4 separate regions of the Homo sapiens genome follow, and all the other regions are linked to region 4. Evidence: promoter capture Hi-C in human tissues and cell types (Jung and others, 2019). All regions are on one chromosome and are shown on one strand. Each heading gives the region's core, a stretch centred on a gene start or on the middle of the fragment in contact. The rest is flanking DNA. Distances are from core to core; before and after follow the strand shown. Region 1 holds the start of ZNF443 (zinc finger protein 443). Region 2 overlaps ZNF791 (zinc finger protein 791). Region 3 holds the start of ZNF799 (zinc finger protein 799). Region 4 holds the start of ZNF20 (zinc finger protein 20).

Evidence for each region. The method cuts DNA at HindIII sites, captures the fragments that hold promoters and counts their contacts. A contact is called where the count stands out against the background at its distance.
Region 1: the fragment with the promoter of ZNF443 here is called in contact with the fragment with the promoter of ZNF20 in region 4 in 1 of the 25 tissues and cell types used here (adrenal gland).
Region 2: a fragment that was not itself captured here is called in contact with the fragment with the promoter of ZNF20 in region 4 in 1 of the 25 tissues and cell types used here (bladder).
Region 3: the fragment with the promoter of ZNF799 here is called in contact with the fragment with the promoter of ZNF20 in region 4 in 1 of the 25 tissues and cell types used here (mesenchymal stem cells).

The regions. Positions count from the first base shown.
Region 1 is chr19:12,439,603-12,442,482 of GRCh38, reverse strand. It overlaps ZNF443 (zinc finger protein 443), which reads left to right and starts at 1,462. Exons shown (of 4, transcript NM_005815.5): 1 at 1,462-1,571. The coding sequence starts at 1,569. RefSeq lists an enhancer at 1,014-1,283 and a silencer at 1,694-1,783. The HindIII fragment of the contact is 16,773 bases long and covers 1-2,880 here.
Region 2 is chr19:12,628,824-12,631,762 of GRCh38, reverse strand. It overlaps ZNF791 (zinc finger protein 791), which reads right to left. Exons shown (of 4, transcript NM_153358.3): 4 at 1-2,939. The coding sequence ends at 2,503. Among named protein-coding and RNA genes, the nearest start is that of ZNF791, 19 kb to the right of the region's middle. The HindIII fragment of the contact is 6,065 bases long and covers 1-2,939 here.
Region 3 is chr19:12,399,962-12,402,661 of GRCh38, reverse strand. ZNF799 (zinc finger protein 799) reads left to right here and starts at 1,391. Exons shown (of 4, transcript NM_001080821.3): 1 at 1,391-1,594. The coding sequence starts at 1,592. RefSeq lists enhancers at 1,237-1,286, 2,007-2,096 and a silencer at 1,617-1,776. The HindIII fragment of the contact is 18,323 bases long and covers 1-2,700 here.
Region 4 is chr19:12,138,978-12,141,677 of GRCh38, reverse strand. It overlaps ZNF20 (zinc finger protein 20), which reads left to right and starts at 1,328. Exons shown (of 4, transcript NM_021143.4): 1 at 1,328-1,498. The coding sequence starts at 1,496. ZNF625-ZNF20 (ZNF625-ZNF20 readthrough (NMD candidate)) reads left to right here. Exons shown (of 8, transcript NR_037802.1): 5 at 1,353-1,498. RefSeq lists a silencer at 1,542-1,751. The HindIII fragment of the contact is 9,607 bases long and covers 1-2,700 here.

The DNA of each region.
Region 1 (2,880 bases), core at 213-2,712, 300 kb before region 4:
CACTGAAAAAGCTTTTGATAATATTTAACATCCCTTCATGATAAAAACCCTAAAAAAAAGTGGGTAAAGAAGGAGCATACCTTAACATAATAAAAGCTATATATGGCAGACCCACAGCTAGCATGATAATGAATGGGGAAAAACTGAAAGCCCTTCCTGTAAGATCTGGAACACAATAAGAATGCCCACTTTTACCACTGTTGTTCAACACAGTACTTGAAGTCCCAGCTAGAGCAATAAGACAAAAAAAAAAAAAAGAAAAAAAAAGAAATAAAGGGCATCCATATTGGGAAGGAAGAAGTCAAATTATCCTTGTTTGCATATAATATGATCTTATATCTGGAAATACCTAAAGACTCCACCAAAAAAGTATTAGAACTGAGAAATAAATTCAGTAAAGTTGCAGTATACAATATCAACACACAAAAATCAATAACATTTTTATATGCCAACAGTGAACAATCTGAAGCTACTTGAGAGGCTGAGGTGGGAGGATTGCTTGAGCTTAGGAGGTAGAGGTTGCAGTGAGCCATGATGGCCCCACTGCACTCCAGCCTAGGTAACAGAGCAAGACCCCATCTCAAACAACCAAAAATGTGTAGAAGGATGGTTACCAGAGGCTGCGAAAAGTAGTAGCGAGGAGTAGTTATGGGGGAAGTGGGGATGGTTAATAGGTATAAAAAATAGTTACAAAGAATGAATAAGACCTAGTATTTGCTAGCACAACAGAGTGACTATAGTAAAAAATAATTTAATTGTACATTGAAAAATCTTGAAAAATTTCATTGAAAAAGAGCATAATTGGAGCCAGGCGCAGTTGCTCACGCCTCTAATCCCAGAACTTTGGGAGGCCAAGGTAGGCGGATCACGAGGTCACGAGTTTGAGACCAGCCTGGCCAACATGGTGAAACCCAGCCTCTACTGAAAAATACAAAAATTAGCCGGGTGGTGGCGCGTGCCTGTAATCCTAGCTACTCGGGAGGCTGAGGCAGGAGAATTGCTTGAACCCACCCAGGAGGCGAAGGTTGCAGTGAGCCTCGCACCATTGCACTCTAGCCTGGGCGACAGAGCAAGACTCCCTCTCGAGGAAAAAAAAAAAAAAAGATATAATTAGTTTGTCAGTCCGTGTCCAGGAGGAAGAAGCAGGAGGTCCTATTGAGTACGGGCAGGAAATTCCGCTTAAGTGCAAATATAACCCGGGAGGATTCAGATCAAAGAGCAGGGAGGAAGCCCCCCCTGCCAAGGGCTGTGTCAGGAACTTGCTCATCCGGCTCCACTCAGCTGTGCAAGATCGCTTCTTCTGTCAATCAGCCCTCAGGGGGCGGGACCTGACGCCCTATCCAATCAGGGGCGTGGGGCGGGTTCGTGGGAACTGTCAATCAGGCACTGCCCAGAGAAGTGTGTGTGGTTGAAAAAGCCCGCGGCGTCTGCTCCACCCACCTGCGCTCGGCTCTGGGTTCTGTAGCTGAGAGACGACCTGGAAGTTCTGAGGCAGCCTTTGTCTGGCTGGAACACGCATTGGCAGCGGGAGCTGTCGGTAGGACCTGGGACACCGCGGAAGTCGGGAAATGGTGCGTGTGCTGGGCCGGCGTCCCGAGGCGGGGGAGGGGTTAGGTGGAACCGGCCGTAATCGGCTGTGGCTGGACCCGGGCCTCCCCAAGGGCGACTTCGGGATCTACGGACCCGGGTCCCCCTGGCGTAGGTCGGCCCTCGGCCGCAGGGTGGGGCTGGGCATGCAGCCGGGACCCCGGGCGTCCTGTCCCGTTCCTGCGCGGCGACTGCGGCCCCGGCGCCCTCTCTGGGCAGCTCCGAGCCCGCAGCCCCGGGTCTCCCCAGATTGTGCGGCTGTAACCAACACAGGTTCGCGGCCCGACTCACTGCACCGAGACGCCGAGGGCTGCAGCAGAAACGGTTTAACAGGAGGAGAGGGGAGGACACCCCAGATCCGCCTCCCTGAGGGATTTGGGGTCTGGACGGGGGCGGCTGGGTGTAGCGTCCTTGGTTGGTGGGGAAGTGAGGGGTGAATCCTGGGACAGGAGGTGAAGAAACCGCATTCTGCTGAGAGGGCTCCCTCGTGGGGTCTTCAACCTGGTTGGCGCCAGCCTTTCTGCTGGGATTCAGGATCTGAGAACTCCGGCGACTCTTGAGCAGCACTCGGAGATCTTATCCCCAGGCACAATGGGGAAGCCGGCGGTCAGCGTCTGCTGTGACCTGACTCTCAGGGAGGCGGCCCCTTGAGGCAGCGGGGCTGAGGGCACCTGTTTAATATCTAACTGCAATCTCGCCTCCAGCCTGGCTCGCAGTTCCTGTGAACCCGGTGAGGAGGCTGCACGGTGACGACGAGTCACCAGGTGGAATCCAGACTCGTGTGTGGGGTTTGTGTGTGGGAGGAGCTGTGGTTTCCGTGGTCCTCAGTCCTTTCTTCCTTTCCAAGGGCGACCGTTTCCCCTCTGAGTCTTCCAAAGACGTGGGCAGCAGGGTCTCAAATCCACCACTGTGTTCTCTCATCCTGACTCTTCCTAGGGCTGGCAGCAAATCTCTTGGTTTCCAGAGACTTCCCCAGGCTAACCTTCTGTCCTTAATTCACAGCAACAGTATGAACTGTTTGGCCCCAGGCGATATTTCACTAGTTTGTCATCTTGTTTTCAGCTAGCAATGTATGGCTTTTTCTTGAAAGAATTGTTTTGGGTTCCTGAACACGGTGGGTCATTCCTGTAATTCCAGCACCTTGGGAGGCTAAGGCAGAGGTATTGCTTGATCCCAGTAGTTCCAGACCAGCCTGGGCAACATGGCAAGACTTTGTCTCTAGTGTAAATGATAATAATAAAATTAGCTGGGCTTGGTAGCTGGCACCTGTAGTCGCAGCTACTCCTGAGGCTG
Region 2 (2,939 bases), core at 406-2,905, 490 kb before region 4:
ATAAAAAATTTTTAACTTTTTTTTGGTGTGTGGGATGGAGTCTTGCTCTGTTGCCCAGGCTGGAGTGTAGTGGCACAATCTCAGCTCACTGCAGCCTCCACCTCCCAGGTTCAAATGATTCTCCTGCTTCAGCCTCCCAAGTAGCTGGAATTACAGGTGCATGCCACCACGCTCAGGTAATTTTTGTATTTTTAGTAGAGATGGGGTTTCACCGTCTTGGCCAGGCTGGTCTCGAACTCCTGACCTCAGGTGATCTGCCTGCCTTGGCCTCCCAAAGTGCTGGGATTACAGGCATGAGCCACCATGCCTTGCCTTAACTTTTATATCGTGTGTGATGAATTTATATCATGGTGTGAATTTTCTGGAGCATTTTACAGGCAGAGATTGCTTAATCATGGGTATATGTTCTGAGAAACGTGTTGTAGGTGATTTCCTCATGGTACAAACATCACAAAGTGAACTTACACAAATCTAGATGGTATAGCTACAACACATCTAGACTATATGGTACAGTCTATTGCTACTAGGCTATAAACCATACAACATGTTGTTGTACTGAACACTGTAGGAAATTGTAACAAAATGTTAAGTATTTATGAGTCTAAACACAGAAAATACACAGAGTAAACATGCAGTATAAAAGATAAAAAAGGATGCACCTGCATAGGACACTCCATGAACATAGCTTGCAGGACTAGAAGTTGCTCTGGGTGAGTCAGTTGAGTGGTGAGTGAATGCGAAGGCCCAGGATGTTACTGTACACTAATGGAGAATTTATAAACACTGTACACTTGGACTACACTACATTCATAAAAACATTTTTTCCTCAATAATGAATAAACCTTAACTTACTGTACATTATTTTCTTTATAAACTTATTTTTAAAAACTTTGTAATAATTTAGCTTAAAACACATTGTACAGCTGTACAAAAATATTTTATGTCCATATTCTATAAGCTTTTTCTATTAAATTTTTTTAAACTATTTTTGTTAAAGACTAACTAAGACACAAACACACATTAGTGTAGGACTACACGGGGTGAGGATCATCAATATCATTGTCTTCTGCCTCCATGTTTTGTCCCGCCAGAATACGTTCAGGGGCAGTCCTGCACATGGAGCCGTCATCGCCTATCATAACAAAGTTTTTCCGGGAATATCTCCTTAAGGACCTGCCTGAGACTGTCTTACTGTTAAAAAAACACAGGAATACATTCTAAAACAGGATTGTAAATATATAAACCAGTAACTTAGCCATTTATTATCAAGTATATATTGCACATCTGTGCTGTAATTTTTTTTTTTTCGAGACGGAGTCTCGCTCTGTCACCCAGGCTGGAGTGTAGTGGTAGATCTCAGCTCACTGCAATCTCCACCTCCCGGGTTCAAGCGATTCTCCTGCTTTGGCCTCCCAAGTAGCTGGGACTACAGGCACACCAGAACGCCCAGCTAATTTTCGTATTTCTAATGGAGACAGGGTTTCATCATGTTGACCAGGCTGGTCTTGAACTCCTGACCTCAACTGATTCTCCCACCTCAGCCTCCCAAAGTGCTGGGATTACAGGTATGAGCCACTGTGCCCAGCCAATTTTTTTTTTTTTTTTTTGATACAGTCTCACTGTCACCCATGCTGGACTGCCATCACGTGATCTTGGTTCACTGTAGCCTTGAACTCCTGGGCTCAGGCAATCCTCCTGCCTCAGCCTCCCATGTAGATGGGACTACAGGGTGTGCTACCACACTTAGAAAATGTTTTTATTTTTTGTAGAGACAGGGTCTCACTAGGTTGACCAGAGTAGTCCTGGCATCAAGCAATCCTACTGCCTTAGTCTCCCAGTGTTGGGATCACAGGTGTGACCATGCCCAGCTGTGTTGTACTTTTTTTTTTTTTTTTTTTTTGAGACAGAGTCTCGCTCTGTTGGCCGGATCTCAGCTCACTGTCAGCTCGGCCTCCTGGGTTTATGCCATTCTCCTGCCTCAGCCTCCCAAGTAGCTGGGACTACAGGCGCCCACCACCACGCCCGGCTAATTGTTTGTATTTTTAGTAGAGATGGGGTTTTACCGTGTTAGCCAGGATGGTCTTGATCTCCTGGCCTCGTGATCCGCCCGCCTTGGCCTCCCAAAGTGCTGGGATTACAGGCGTGAGCCACCGTCCCCGGCCGCTGTCTTGTACTTTTATACAACTGAAAGTGCAGCACGTTTACACCAGCACCATAAACACTTAAATAATGTGCTGCACTATGGTGTTACTACTGCTACTAAATTGCGGTTGATAGAAATGTTTTAGGTGTTATATAATCTTATGGGGCTACCAACCTATATGGTCCATTGCTGACTGAAACATGATTATGTGGTACCTGACTATACATGAATCATCTTGTATCTCGCTTTCTATATTACTTACATTGACAGGATTTCTCTCTTCAGTGGGAATTTTCACAACTTTGAAAGCATCTGTTAGAATTGAAAACTTTCTCCTATTTCTCACATTTATAGAGTTTCTATCGATTGTGCATTCTCATATGTTTTTTTAAGGATGTGGACACACTGAAGGCTTTTCCACATTGCTTACATTCAAGAGGTTTCTCATAATTGTGAATTCTTGTATGTCTTTGAAAGGAACTGTGAAGACTAAAGGCCTTCCCACATTCTTTACATTTATAGGGTTTCTCTCCAGTATGCATTCTCATGTGTCCTTGAAAGCTTGTGGGATAAATAAAGGCCTTCCCGCATTCCTTACATTCATAAGGTTTCTCCCCAGTGTGAGTTCTTTTATGTATCCGAATGTAACTAGAACAACTAAAGGCTTTTCCACATTGTTTACATTCATAGGGTTTCTCTCCAGTGTGAGTTCTTTCATGTGTTCGTAACGCACTAGGAAAAATGAACACCTTCCCACAGTCCCTACATTTATAAGGTCCGTCTCCAGTGTGGGTGA
Region 3 (2,700 bases), core at 142-2,641, 260 kb before region 4:
GATAATATTTAACATCCCTTCATGATAAAAACCCTAAAAAAAAACTGGGTATAGAAGCAGCTACCTTAACATAATAAAAGCCATATATGGCAGACCCACAGCTAGCATGATAATGAATGAGGAAAAACTGAAAGCCTTTCCTGTAAGATCTGGAACACAATAAGAATGCCCACTTTTACCACTGTTGTTCAGCACAGTACTCGAAGTCCCAGCTAGAGCAATAAGTCCAAAAAAAAAAAAAAAAAGAAATAAAGGGCATCTATATTGGGAAGGAAAGGAAGAAGTCAAATTATCCTGGTTTGCATATAATATGATCTTATATCTGGAAATACCTAAAGACTCCACCAAAAAAGTATTAGAACTGAGAAATAAATTCAGTAAAGTTGCAGGATACAATATTAACATACAAAAATCAGTAACATTTTTATATGCCAACAGTGAACAATCTGAAGCTACTTGAGAGGCTGAGGTGGGAGGATTGCTTGAGCTTGGGAGGTAGAGGTTGCAGTGAGCCATGATGGCCCCACTGCACTCCAGCCTAGGCAACAGAGCAAGACCCCATCTCAAACAACCAAAAACGTGTAGAAGGATGGTTACCACAGGCTGGGAAAAGTAGTAGCGAGGAGTAGTTATGGGGGAAGTGGGGATGGTTAATAGGTATAAAAAATAGTTACAAAGAATGAATAAGACCTAGTATTTGCTAGCACAACAGAGTGACTATAGTAAAAAATAATTTAATTGTACATTGAAATATTTTGAAAAATTTCATTGAAAAAGAGTATAATTGGAGCCAGGCGCGATGGCTCACGTCTCTAATCCCAGAACTTTGGGAGGCCAAGGTGGGCGGATCACGAGGTCAGGAGTTCGAGACCAGCCTGGCCAACATGGTGAAACCCGGCCTCTACTAAAACATACAAAAATTAGCCGGGTGTGGTGGCGCGCACCTGTAATCCCAGCTACTCGGGAGGCTGAGGCAGAATTGTTTGAACCCACCTAGGAGGCGGAGGTCGCAGTGAGCCTCGCACCATTGCACTCTAGCCTGAGCCACGGAGCAAGACTCCCTCTCTCTCTCTCTCTCTCTCTCTCTCTCTCGGAAAAAAAAAAAAAAAAAAAAAAAAAAGTATAATTGTTTTGTCAGTCAGTGTACAGGAGGAAGAAGCAGGAGGTCCTATTGAGTACAGGCAGGAAATTCCGCTTAAGTGCAAATATCCCTCGGGAGGATTCAGATCAAAGAGCAGGGAGGAAGCCCGCCCTGCCAAGGGCTGTGTCAGGAACTTGCTCATCTGGCTCCACTCAGCTGTGCAAGATCGCTTCTTCTGTCAATCAGTCCACGAGGGGCGGCACCTGACGCCGTATCCAGTAAGGGCCGTGGGGCGGGTTCGTGGGAACTGTCAATCAGGCGCGCTTCCCAGAGGAGTGTGTGGTTGAAAAAGCCCGCGGCGTCTTCTCCACCCACCTGCGCTGGGCGCTCGGTGCTCGGCTCTGTAGCTAAGAGACGACCTGGAAGTTCCGTGGCAGCCTGTGTCCCGCGGGAACCCGCATTGGCAGCGGGAGCCGTCCGGAGGACCTGGGACACCGCGGAAGTCGGGAAATGGTGCGTGTGCTGGGCCGGCGTCCCGAGGCGGGGGAGGGGCTGGGTGGAACCTGCAGTAATCGGCTGTGGCTGGACCCGGGCCTCCCCAAGGGCTACTCCGGGATCTACGGACCCGGGTTCCCCTGGCGTAGGTCGGCCCTCGGCCGCAGGGTGGGGCTGGGCATGCAGCCGGGACCCCGGGCGTCCTGTCCCGTTCCTGCGCGGCGACTGCGGCCCCGGCGCCCTCTCTGGGCAGCTCCGCGCCCGCAGCCTCGCGTCTCCCGAGATTGTGCGGCTGTAAGCAACACAGGTTCGCGGCCCGACTCACTGCACCGAGACGCTGAGGGCTGCAGCAGAAACAGTTTAATAGCCAGAGAGGGGAGGACACCCCAGATCCGCCTCCCTGAGGGATTTGGGGTCTGGACGGGGGCGGCTGGGTGTAGGGTCGTTGGTTGGTGGGGAAGTGAGGGGTGAATCCTGGGACAGGAGGTGAAGAAACCGCATTCTGCTGAATGGGCTCCCTCGTTGGGACTTCAACCTGATTGGCGCCAGCCTTTGCTGGGATTCAGGATCTGAGAACTCCGGCGACTCTTGAGCAGTTCTCAGAGATCTTATCCCCAGGCACAATGGGGAAGCCGGCGGTCAGCGTCTGCTGTGACCTGACTCTCAGGGAGGCGGCCCCTTGAGGCAGCGGGGCTGAGGGCACCTGGTTAATATCTAACTGCAATCTCGCCTCCAGCCTGGCTCGCAGTTCCTGTGAACCCGGTGAGGAGGCTGCACGGTGACGACGAGTCACCAGGTGGAATCCAGACTCGTGTGTGGGGTTTGTGTGTGGGAGGAGCTGTGGTCTCCGTGGTCCTCAGTCCCTTCTTTCTTTCCAAGGGCGACCGTTTCCCCTCTGAGTCTTCCAAAGATGTGGTTAGCAGGGTCTCAAATCCACCACTGTGTTCTCTCATCCTGACTCCTCCTAGGGCTGGCAGCAAATCTCTTGGTTTCCAGAGACTTCCCCAGGCTAACCTTCTGTCCTTAATTCACAGCAACGGTATGAACTGTTTGGCCCCCAGGCGATATTTCACTAGTTTGTCATCTTGTTTTCAGCTAGCAATGTATGGCTTTTTCTTGAAAGA
Region 4 (2,700 bases), core at 79-2,578:
TCCCGAGTAGCTGGGATTACAGGTGGGCTCTACCACACCCGGCTAATTTTTGTATTTTTAGTAGAGACGGGATTTCACCATGTTGGTCACGCTGGTCTCCAACTCCTGATCTCAGGTGATCCAGCCACCTCGCCCTCCCAAAGTGCTGGGATTACAGGCTTGAGCCACAGCGCCCAGCCACTACTGCCTCACTTTCATGCAGTTAAATAATCTTGGACACTTCCTCCTCGACTTTATACATACACACTGGAGGAGAGCTTTGCTCGTGTGTTATTCTCGCAGTGGGATTGAGGATGTTTGTCTCATGGAAACTGATGAATGATGTGAGAAGCAGGTGAATAACCTGCAGGGGGCAGCAGAGACCGACGCCAGGGACGGGACGCTGAGGCTAGTATGGATCCTGCCAAGGAGTGAAGTGGAGTTCTGGGTGCTTCCTGGGCAGCCGCCCTCCCCTGCAGGTGGCTTGCAGCTGCTCAGAGCAGATCCAGAAAGAGTGTGGGTTCTGACATGCTGCAGCGCCCTGGAAAGCAGGAGACCCACGTGCAGGTGCACTTCAGGAGTTCTGTCCTTTCTGCGGCTGTACATCTGGAATCTGGGGCGGTTTTCGGGAGCAGTGTTTTGGGTTTGACATGCATAGAGTCCCTGGGGTCAGACTGTAATTTGCATATCTGAAGAAAATCCGTAAAGATCAAGTTCAGGGAAATAACTGTTTGGGACCTCTCCTGGAGAAGGGGCTTATGCAGTTGACAGTTTATTTAGGTCAGAAGCTTAAAATCACCAAGTGAGAGTTTTCTGCCGATGAAGATGAAGGTCTGGAAGGAGGGAGAGTTTCCACACTGTGAGGTGGGGTGAGATGTGTGAAAGCCTTGGCCATGTCTCATCCCTAATTCCGGGCCCCTGAAGGACAACTGCCTCTCCTTCTTGGTGCAGTCGTGCCTGGCCTGATCTGGGCTCCCCTTCCTGCTCTGAGGTCAGCACATCGCTCCATTGGACACTCAGTCTGGAATTCCCTGCACACACTTACAACCCTGTGCAGGACGAAGAAGCACTGACAGCCCATTGAATGAGGAAGAAGATAGTGCCCTGTGTAAAAATCAGGAGCAAATTTGGCTGAAAAGAAAATATCCAATGACCAGGGCTCAGGGAAGGAGTTGTCCCTTAGAGAGAAGCTGTGGCTAGAACCGATCAGTCCGGCTTTGCAGGGCTCGTTACCCAGGGCTTCTGCCGTCACTCAGTTCTGAGGGGGCGGGGCCTTGTACCTTGTCCAATCAGAAGCGCCGGGGCGGAGCCCGGCCAACGGTCCGTCCGGAAGGAGGAGGCCCATTCCAGCTTCTACTTTTGTTGCTATGCAGGTTGTTGTCGGGATACCAGATTTCCTACTCCGAGAGGCCCCGGGTCCCTCTGCCACAACTTCTGTCGCTCTGCCGCCTGCACCGTGACCCGCACTATTCACGGGAGCCCTAGAGAGGACACCGGGACACCCAGAAGCCGGGAAATGGTGAGTGTATGGGGCCGGAGTCCCCAGACGGGGGAGGGGCTGGGTGGAACCGGCCGGAAGCGGCTGTGGTGGGATCTGGGCCTCCTCGCCGCGCCTCCTGGATCTGGGACCCGAATCCCTCTGTCTCAGCTCGTCCCTGCGTCCCCTCGGCCGCAGGGTGCGGCTGGGCCGGCAGCCGGGACCCCGGGCGTCCTCCTGTTCTGTTCCTGCGCGGGCGACTGTGGGCCCCGACCCTGGAGCCCTCTCTGGGCAGCTCCGCGCCTGCAGCCCCGCGTCTCTTCAGATTTTGCGGGGACCACGGGAGGGTCATGGGGGAATCCTGCGGATTTTTTTTTCTGTTAAAGAGTTTGGGCCGGGCGCGGTGGACCATGCTTGTAATCCCAGCACTTTGGGAGGCCGAGGCTTGCGGATCACGAAGTCAGGAGATCGAGACCATCCAGGCTAACACAGTGAAACCCCGTCTCTACTAAAAATACAAAAAATTAGCCGGGCATGGTGGCATGCGCCTGTAGTCCCCGCTACTCAGGAGGCTGAAGCAGGAGAATCGCATGACCCCAGGAGACGAAGGTTGCAGTGAGCCGAGATCACGCCACTGCACTCCAACCTAGGGGACAGAGCGAGATTCCATCTCAAAAAAAAAAAAAAATTTAAAGAGTTTGAGCAAACAGCGATTCATGAGTGAGAAACGCCCAGTCATGATTTGTGGTTTTGGTACCAGAAAGTTTTAAGAAGAATTGCATTTTGTTAACGGTGGAGGGGGTCCAGGTTCTTGGCGTCTTGAACAAAGAATTGGACAAAACGCACAAAGCAAGGAAGGAATGAAGGGATTTAACACTCCACAGTGTGCAAGCGGGGCTGAGCACAGGGGCTCAAAGGCCCCGTTACAGAATTTTTGGGAGTTTAAATACCCCCTGGAGGATTCCATTGGTTACTTGGGGTATACTCTATGTAAAAGGAGAGGATGAAGTAAGGTTATAAAATCATTTACTTGGCTTACGCCCTATGGAGTAGGTATTTCCTTTCATAGCTGAAGTTTGAATAGGCCTTATGTTCCCTGCGTCCAGACCCTATTTTCCTGCCTCAATTTGAGTTTGATTTTGGTGTCCTTAGGTAGTTTCTTATAGCACTAAACACACTTCAGTCTAATTGCTGCTGCTTTAAATTTTTTCACACTGTCTATAGGGACTGGCTTCCTCCTGCAT